Regions from separate parts of the Homo sapiens genome. Here regions 1 and 2 are each linked to region 3. The links are contacts of gene promoters, found by promoter capture Hi-C in blood cells and fetal thymus (Javierre and others, 2016). All regions are on one chromosome and are shown on one strand. The core of a region is centred on a gene start or on the middle of the fragment in contact, and the rest is flanking DNA. Distances in the headings are between cores, read along the strand shown. Region 1 has its middle 23 kb from the start of APOBEC1. Region 2 holds the start of IFFO1 (intermediate filament family orphan 1). Region 3 holds the start of C1RL-AS1 (C1RL antisense RNA 1).

Evidence for each region. The method cuts DNA at HindIII sites, captures the fragments that hold promoters and counts their contacts. A CHiCAGO score of 5 or more calls a contact.
Region 1: a fragment that was not itself captured here is called in contact with the fragment with the promoter of C1RL-AS1 in region 3 in 1 of 17 cell types (fetal thymus); the score reaches 5.7 in fetal thymus.
Region 2: the fragment with the promoter of IFFO1 here is called in contact with the fragment with the promoter of C1RL-AS1 in region 3 in 9 of 17 cell types (activated CD4 T cells, non-activated CD4 T cells, naive CD4 T cells and 6 more); the score reaches 22.9 in activated CD4 T cells.

The regions. Positions count from the first base shown.
Region 1 is chr12:7,641,380-7,644,228 of GRCh38, forward strand. No RefSeq gene overlaps it. Among named protein-coding and RNA genes, the nearest start is that of APOBEC1, 23 kb to the right of the region's middle. The HindIII fragment of the contact is 2,109 bases long and covers 475-2,583 here.
Region 2 is chr12:6,554,536-6,557,327 of GRCh38, forward strand. It overlaps IFFO1 (intermediate filament family orphan 1), which reads right to left and starts at 1,507. Exons shown (of 10, transcript NM_001193457.2): 1 at 722-1,507. The coding sequence starts at 1,494. It overlaps NOP2 (NOP2 nucleolar protein), which reads right to left. Exons shown (of 16, transcript NM_001258308.2): 16 at 2,336-2,792. The coding sequence ends at 2,458. RefSeq lists an enhancer at 1-484 and silencers at 945-1,124, 1,235-1,474, 1,525-1,684. The HindIII fragment of the contact is 7,963 bases long and covers 1-2,792 here.
Region 3 is chr12:7,106,913-7,109,857 of GRCh38, forward strand. It overlaps C1RL-AS1 (C1RL antisense RNA 1), which reads left to right and starts at 1,396. Exons shown (of 12, transcript NR_026947.1): 1 at 1,396-1,569; 2 at 1,761-2,035. C1RL (complement C1r subcomponent like) reads right to left here and starts at 2,302. Exons shown (of 6, transcript NM_016546.4): 1 at 2,198-2,302; 2 at 1,339-1,567. The coding sequence starts at 2,268. RefSeq lists enhancers at 1,322-2,521, 1,354-1,523, 2,164-2,243. The HindIII fragment of the contact is 2,026 bases long and covers 834-2,859 here.

The DNA.
Region 1 (2,849 bases), core at 279-2,778, 530 kb after region 3:
TATCAGGCACGCTCACTGAAAATAATTCCCCAAAATTAGAAAAGCAACTTCCAGAGGAGCCATCTGAAGATCCCCCTTCTTTGGGGGCCCCTTCAAGTTCCCTTCTCGTTACAGCCCCTTAGGCCTGTAATAAAGGGAGACTTAGCCAATTTTCTCACAACCCTGATAGGTATATAAAAGCTTTCCAGGCTGGGCGCAGTGGCTCACGCCTGTAATCCCAACACTTTGGGAGGCTGAGGCGGGCAGATCACGAGGTCAAGAGATTGAGACCATCCTGGTCAACATGGTGAAACCCCGTCTCTACTAAAAATACAAAAATTAGTTGGGCGTTGTGGCATGTGCCTGTAATCTCAGCTACTTGGGAGGCTGAGGCAGGAGAATCGCTTGCACCCAGGATGTGGAGGTTGCAGTGAGCCAAGATCACGGCACTGAACTCCAGCCTAGCAATAGAGTGAGACTCCGTCTCAAAAAAAAAGCTTTCCAAAATTTAACTCAGGTATTTCACCTCAGATGGAAGGATGTTATGTTGCTCCTAAGTCAGACCCTCACTGCAGCTGAAAAGCAGGCAGCTCTGATTTCAGAGATTAGCAACATATCTCCTATAATACACCAAAAGGGAAGAAAGCAGATAAGGAAAGAGAAGAAATAGCAGAAATGCCATTCCCAATTGGGAGGAAAGCAGTTTCCCTTGACAACCCTAATTGGGACCCCAATAACTCAGGAGATGAAAAGGAAGCTCTTTTTTAAGTGTGCATTAGAGGGCCTACGGAAAACCAGGGCCAAACCTCTCAATTACTCTAAACTGTCCATGATAAACAGCCAGATGAGAATCTTGTAGCCTTTATGGAAAGGCTGAGAGAGGCACTAACAGAACACCCCTCCTTATCCCCTGATTCAGTCGAGGGACAGCTCATCCTAAAGGACAAGTTTATTAGACAGGCAGCTGCCAATATTAAAAGGAAACTACACAAGCAAGCTATAGGACCAGATAGCACCTTAGAGAACTTCCTGAAAGTGGCCACTTTGGTCTTTTGTAATAGGAACCAGGAGGAGGCCCAAAAGAAAGAGACAATGGTCAGAAGGACAGAGACTCTAGCAGCAGCTTTGCAGGCTTGCAAAGTCCAGGATCCCGGAGGTGCATCTGCTAGTTGCTATCAGTGTGGCAGGCCAGAGCATGTTAAGAAAGAATGCCCATACAGCAAGACAAAGCCACCTCAACCCTCTCCAGCCTGTGGCAGAGACAACAGGAGATGGAACTGCCCCCAGAGGTGGAGGTCACTGGGTTCAGAACCAGTCTTACTGATGATCCAGCAGAACTGGATCCCGGGGCTCAAACTCCAGCTCCAGCGGCTCAAACTGCCATTACAGCACAGGAGCTCTGAGTGATTCTGGAAATTAAAAGAAGGAAAGTAGACCTCTTTCTAAACACTCAGCCAGTCTCTCTTTTTTCTCCTCTCTAATCCAGGCCTCCCCTCTTCCCATAGCACAACCAGAAGGGGCATCTCAGGAAAAACTCTACTCCAGTATTTTTCTCAACCTTAGTTGACACGTGCTTCCAAGCCATTATCATGACAGCTCGCTAATCAGAAAAGCCTCCAAGTTAACCCTAGGAAATAATTTAACTGTTTACACCCCACATAATGTGGCAGGATTACTGTCCTCTAGGGGGAGCTCTTAGCCAACAAACCGCCAGTAAAGCAAGAAGTACATAAGGCAGGATAAGCAGTAGTCACTCTAAATAACGTCTCTCCCCAGGCACAAGCGCTCAATTAGCTGAGCTAACAGCTTTTACAAGCACACTTGGATTAAGCAAGGGAAAGGTAGCTAACATTTATACTAACTCCAAGTATGCTTTCTTGGTTCTCCATGCTCATGCTGCCATTTGAAAGAAAAGACATTTTCGGCCAGGCGGTGGCTCACGCCTGTAATCCCAACACTTTGGGAGGCCAGACGGGCGGATCACGAGGTCAGGGGATCAAGACCATCCTGGCTAACATGGTGAAACCCCGTCTCTACTAAAAATACAAAAAATTAGCCAGGCGTGGTGGCAGGCGCCTGTAGTCCCACCTACCTGGGAGGCTGAGACACGAGAATGGCGTGAACCTGGGAGGTGGAGGTTGCAGTGAGCCGAGATCGCGCCACTGCAGTCCAGCCTGGGCGACGGAGCGAGACTTCGTCTCAAAAAGAAAGAAAGAAAGAAAAGACATTTTCTTACCATTAATAGATCCCCTATAAAAATATCACCAGGAAATTAGCAGGTTATCTTCAGTTTTTCTTCCACAAGAAATAGCAGGAATGCATTGTAAGGAACATCAAAAGGGAACAAATGAGGTAGCCAAAGGAAATAGGTTAGCTGATCAGGCAGTTAAGTCAGAGGCAAGGAAGCCTCAAGCCGTTAAGGCACTTAAGCCCCTTCTAATCTAGGAAGGCTCCATAAGAAAAATTAAACCTCAGTATTTCCCTGCAGAAATAAAATAGGCCACTTCTCGAGGACGTAGTTCCCAGCCCTCAGAAAGGCTACAGTCAGAGGATGGCAAACTCCATTTGCCAGCCTCCAGCCAATGTCCTTAAAATCCTTCACCAAGCTTTTCACTTGGGAAAGGATAAAACTTATCAGTGTGCTCAGAGATTGTTTTCAGGCAGGAAACCTCTAAATTGGTTAAGCATGTAACCTCTCTAGCTCACTTCCAACAAGAATTAACGCAACTAACAGAAGTCCAACCCCAGGAAACAGAACCACCTTTATTTAACCCAGGAAATTTGGTGTTAGTGAAAACCCTCATCTCTGTCTCCTTCCCTAAGCCAAGCTGGGAAAGGCCCTACACTGTTCTTCTTTCAACACCATTGGC
Region 2 (2,792 bases), core at 257-2,756, 550 kb before region 3:
GCGGTCCTAGGGAGGGCCCATATCCCAGCTTCTCCCTGCTCAGTCCCCTGCTGGCTCTCCACTCTCCCTCCCCACTGGCGCTTTATACTGCCAAGATTCCCCTGTCAGCCCTGCTCTCCACCCTCACCCTAGTGAATTCCCTTCACTCTTTCTTTTCCCAGTTTGTTGACCTACTCAAGCAATGGCTTGAGGTCCCGGAGCTTTTCCTATGAAACCACAGCAGGTACCTGGTTTCCATCAATATTCTTTGGGAAACCTTGGGGTGTGAAAGAATCACTCGTTGCAAGGTACAGCCCCTCCCTCACCAGCCCCTTCCAGTTTCACTCAATTTAGTCTCCCAAATTTACGCTATATCCTTGCCTCCTACTTTTGAAGTTTATATCCCTAACCTGCCCCAGGGCTGAGACCGGTAGGGCAGAGCCCCAGTCCCTTTCACACCGCACAAAACCCGCAGTTAAGCCTGGATGGCAGAGACAAGCCGGAAAAGTAGGAATCCCCCCGTGTTCCGCTCCCAGCGTCCTTCTTCCTGTCACGAGCAGGGCTTCTGCATTCTCTGCGGATTCTAGTCTCCCTGCATCCAATTGCTTCCAAGCTCCTCATTACACAGCACAAACTTTACTCTCATTCTTTTCACCCCTGATTCTTCGGAACCCACACCAACTCGCGGCCCGTTGTGAGTGGTATGACACAGAGAGACCTGTCCCCCTTTCCCAATCCCTACCTCCGCTTGTACTCGTCCCGCTCCCGCTTCACTTTGGCCAGCACGTTGTAGAGAGCGCGGATCTCGGGCGTGATGGTGTCGATCTGGACGCCCACCCCATCCGGGTGCACCCACGACAAGCCAGGCCCTTGCACCAGAGTGGGCTCCAGTCCCGGCCCGAGCCGGCGGGCGTGCGAGAACGACCAGATGGTGCCGGGCATGAAGCGGGCCGACGAGGAATAGGTGGTGGAGGTGGAGGTGGAGGACGACGAGAGGCTGGCCGCGGAGGGCGCGAGGGGGCCGGCCGGGGAGCGCGCGGGCGAGCCCAGCACGCGCGCCGAAGGGCTGCAGACAGCGGCCGGCCGGGCGCCCAGCTGCAGCCCCAGGGGCCGGATGGGGCTGACGAAGCCGGTCTGCACTGCCTGGTCGCGACGACCCAGGCCCCGCCGGCCCTGCTTACCCTCCTCCAGCGCTTGCTGCAGTTGCTTCTCCAACAGCCGGTTCCGGCGCTCCAGCTCATGCACCTTGGCCAGGAAGCAGCGGAACCGGAGGTTCAGGGTCTTGAGCACGTTGATGTTGGAGCCCAGGTCATTGCGGAGGGCCATGGCGGCAGGCGGGGCCGGGCCCGGCCCGGGCGGCGAGTAGGCAGCAGGGCCGGCCGGCGAGAGAGGCGCCGGGGGCAAGTCTCCTCCCCCGGCGAAGTGGTCGCCTCCCAGTGAGTCCCCCAGTGGCCCGGCCAGGCCCTGCTGCTCCTGCTGCAGGAGGAAGAGGTTGGGGCCGAATAACGGATTCATGGCTGCGCCTTCTGCTGGGAGATGCAGACCGGTGCAGGAGCAGGGATGGAAGGCGAGCCAGAAGAGCCAATGCGGCGCCGGCGGGACAGAGCCGACCAATCAGGCGGCTCGGCAGCGGGGCAGAGGTCAGGGGGCGGGCCGAGGGGAAGCCAATGACAGGCTCCAATTGGAGGCCGGACCCTGGACCTTTCCGGGTCTGAGGCCGAGCCCTGTGATGAGGGGAGCCACCGCCTGGACTCCAGCCGGGGTGGCGTAAAGCCCAGGACCTCCAGTACCCCATGGGTTCTGGTGGCAAGCCCATCTCCCCTACACGACTTTTTTTTTTTTTGAGACCGAGTCTCACTGTCGCCCGGGCTGGAGTGCAGTGGCGCGATCTTGGCTCACTGCAACCTCAGCCTCCCAGGTTCAAGCGATTCTCCTGCTTCAGTCTCCCGAGTAGCTGGGATTACAGGCACCCGCCACCACACCCGGCTGATTTTTTGTATTTTTAGTAGAGACGAGGTTTCGCCATGTTAGCCAGGCTGGTCTCGAACACCTGACCTCAGGTGATCCACCCGCCTTGGCCTCCCAGAAAGTGCTGGGATTACAGGCATGAGCTAGTGTGCCCCGCCTTCCCCTACACTTCTATTGCCCTCCTCTCCCCGGAGTTCAATCACCCCTAGCTCTGACTCCAGGGCTTTCCCTTCCTGGGAAAACCCAAGGATGCAGGAGCCTAAAACTGACCTTATTTCTCAGTAGCACCCAACCATTCCCTCTCCTCAGAAGATCCCAGTCCCACCTCCCATCTTTACCCTTAAAGCGGCAAAGGCAGCACCCAGTTCCCTCAAAAATACTCAGTGGCCAGAGGTTTTAAAATGTGTATTAAATTTCATGGGTATGCACAGTAGAGAAGGCATCCTCACAGAGGCAAGAGTTCCAACCTGGTGACAATGGCAGTGAGCCACCCGTCTAGTTTTCAACCATCTAAGATAGCAGCAGCTGGCTGTTGCCCCTGGACTGAGATTTCTTCCTCTTTGCTGGTGGGGGGCGGCTGGAACGGATGGGAGACACAGTGGGAGGCTGAGGCCCCTTGGGGGTATCATTCTGTTTCTGGAAGGCAGCTTTCTCAAAAGGCTGCTCTGGCAACTGCTGCTTCTCAACCCCCTTGGCCCTTCCAAGGGGCTGATGATGGTCCTTAGGTTTCAGGGTGGCCTGAGTCTTGGATGGGGATAACACAGCCGGTGTTTGTGTGTCTGTGCCCTTGGGAGGGGCATTCTGCCTGAGGAAAGCAACTTTCTTGGAGGACTGTAATTTAGGTG
Region 3 (2,945 bases), core at 146-2,645:
GGCAGAATGAGGAGGGGAAATGTGGGTGGTGAAGACTGAAGACAGATAAAGCTAGTCCTTATCTTCTATACTGTAGTTGAGCATTAATAGAAAATACGTAAAAATGAAAGACAAATAAGCATGTTATTTATACATATGAAGTTAAAGACCAGATGAAACAGCTACATGAATTGGCAAATGACTGCTCCTGAGGAGCAGCACTCAGGGGCGGGGAGGAACAGCTTGGAGACTGCTGTTATTCATAAACCTTTTTAAAAACCTTTTTTTTTTTTTGGAGACAGGGTCTCACTCTGTCACCCAGGCTGGAGTACGGTGTCATGATCAGAGCTCACTGCAGCCTCTACCTTCCAGGCTCAAGTGATCCTCTCACTTCAGCGTCCCTTGTAGCTGGGACCACAGGTGCGTGCCACCACACTTGGCTAATTTTTAAATTTTTTTGTAGAGATGGGGTCTTGCTATGTTGCCCAGGCTGGTCTCAAATTCCTGGGCTCAAGTGCTTCTTTCGCCTCAGCCTCCCAAAGTGCTGGGACTACAGACATGAGCTACTGCGCCCAGCCTTAGAAAACTTTAATTAAAAAACAAAAAGTCTTACAACTATTATGTATCCATAATAATTAAAAATTTTAAAATTAAAAAATAAAGTTCAAAAATTTATGTCATTTTGATATAAATAAAATTTAAATCAAAAGATAATGTGCTCTTTTTATTTTTATTTATTATTTACTTATTTTTGAGATGGGGTCTTGCTATGTTGCTTAGGCTGGCCTTGAACCCTGGGCTCCAGCCCTCTGATCCTCCAGCCTCAGTCTCCTGACTATACTGCTGGGACTGCAAGCTTGCATCACTCCATCAAGTACTGTTTTTAAAATGTCCTTATTCTGAATAAGGCTTTGGCGTTAGAAGTTTTGTAATAGCTCTTCCAAGGTAAGTGTGAACGGTGACTTAATCTTTTGTTATTATTTGTGTCCAGCTTCCTCACCTGATAGAGCAGGCACTCAACAAATACATGATGACATATTTTTAACAACCAATATGTGCGTCCCTGCCCCTGGCTCCATAGATTTGCAAGATTTGTGTGTCCATTCATAAGCCTTCCAAACGCAGGGCCTGCTTGCTGCCCTCTTTGCTCTGTGGGGCCCAGATGGCAGCCCCGGAGGCGCTGGTGGGAGGCTGTGTCCTGGGGTCCACCACTGCTCCCCGGTAAGCCAAGCCCGACTGCCCCTACATGGAAAATTCATCCCTCCTCCAGATGGGGGATTCAGGGCACCGCCACTTCCCACAACCCCGGGAATCTCCCTGGCCACAGTCCTGGCGGGACCCCCCCCATCCCCAGCTCACTGTGACAGAGTCCCCTGCACAGTCCTGGGACGGCTCCAGGTCGAAGTCCTGGAAGACGAGCCTCACAGCAAAGCCCTCTGGAGCCTTGATGTCCGTGCTGCTCTCTTGGCCTTTGCCATACGGCTCTGGGTACCCGGGGGATGTCAGCTGCTGGGGTAGCTCTTGGGCCAAGAGGACGGAGCCCCGGGTTGGGCAAGCCTGGAGGACTCCCCAGAGAAGCAGCCACCACCTGTGAGTTGGGGGGAGGGCAAGGTGGGGCCGCGCAGCTATGGCCGGAAGCCTGTGGGTGTGGGAGGAGCGGGGGAGCCGCGCTAGGACTCAGAGGCCTCGCGAGGCAGGGCTAGAAGCTGTGGCCTCACCCTTGAGGCCCGGGCACTTCCCGTCTCCTCCCTTGCTCCCCTTCCTCACCCCAATCCCTACAGCCTCCCGCGCAGCCTGAGCTCTAGGATTGTGGGTTTTCCATCCTCCGAAGACATCACCTTTGCTCATCTCCCAGGAGAGTCTCGTCCAAAGGAGGGGGGTGCTTTCTGCTTCAGCAGATCCCACCCCACCCTGGGATCCGAGGGAGCAATGGTGGGGCGAGTGAGGGTCTGCCGTAAATATCCCCCGACCACCCTCTGGGAAGGTGCTAGAGGCCACAGGCAAATTTCAGTCTCCCCATGGAATATCTGCTGTGCTGCTGCTGCTGCTGCTGCTGGTGTGTGTATGTGGGGGAGGTGTGTGTGTGTGTGTGTGTGTGGGGGGGGGGGGGATGTGTGTGTGGGGGGGGTAGGGTGGGGGGAGGGAGGGTTTGCGGCCACCCACCCTTTCTCTTCCCCTCCCGTCCTCTTCCCTCCTCCTCTGCCGGGGCCACACTCACATTGCGCCTGGACAGCCTTTGGAGTGAGGGCTTCTCCAGAGATATTTCCCCCACACTCTGGGTCCAGGCATCTGGAACTGGACATCTGGGACCTGCGAGAGAACTGGCCCAGGATAGGGAACAAAAGGTGAAGGCCGGTGGGGGAGGAGGAAGTTCCTGGAAATGTTAAGCAACTCCACAGTTCCCCTTCTCCAATTCTCCGGGCTGAGCGCCACCTGCCGTCTGACTCAGGAACAGCGGGCCCGCCGCAGCTTAGGGGAGAAACGTCCAAAAACCTCGCTGGCCCTCAGAGGTCAGGGTGGCAGGGCACTGACTCGACCCTTTTGTACTATTTAACATTAATTTTTGCCATGTGTGTAGGATGGCTCCTTGTGAGTTATGGCTGCTGCCTTCAATCAGCCATGTCTCTTCCTCCCCGACCTTTCCGTTCACGACATACCCGGGGAGCCTCCCTCTTGTAGAATTGAAGTTTGTGATCCTTGAACTTGAGCTTTCTCTTCCTTTCCCTCCTCCCCAAGCAGGGGTGGGGGACATGCGCTTAGGTGGTCTTTTGAATCCTATTCACAACCTCTGGAGGCTGCTTGTCCAGCATGGTCAGGGCTGGGGTCGAGCCCAGGTGTCCCTCAGTCCCTAGTCCCAGTCATCACTCAAGCCGTCACTCAAGCTTCTTTAGGCAGATACTAGAGCCCCTGCCTGCTCTCACCGCTCCCCGAGGAAGGACACTCACCCACAGCTTGGTAGGAGGCCA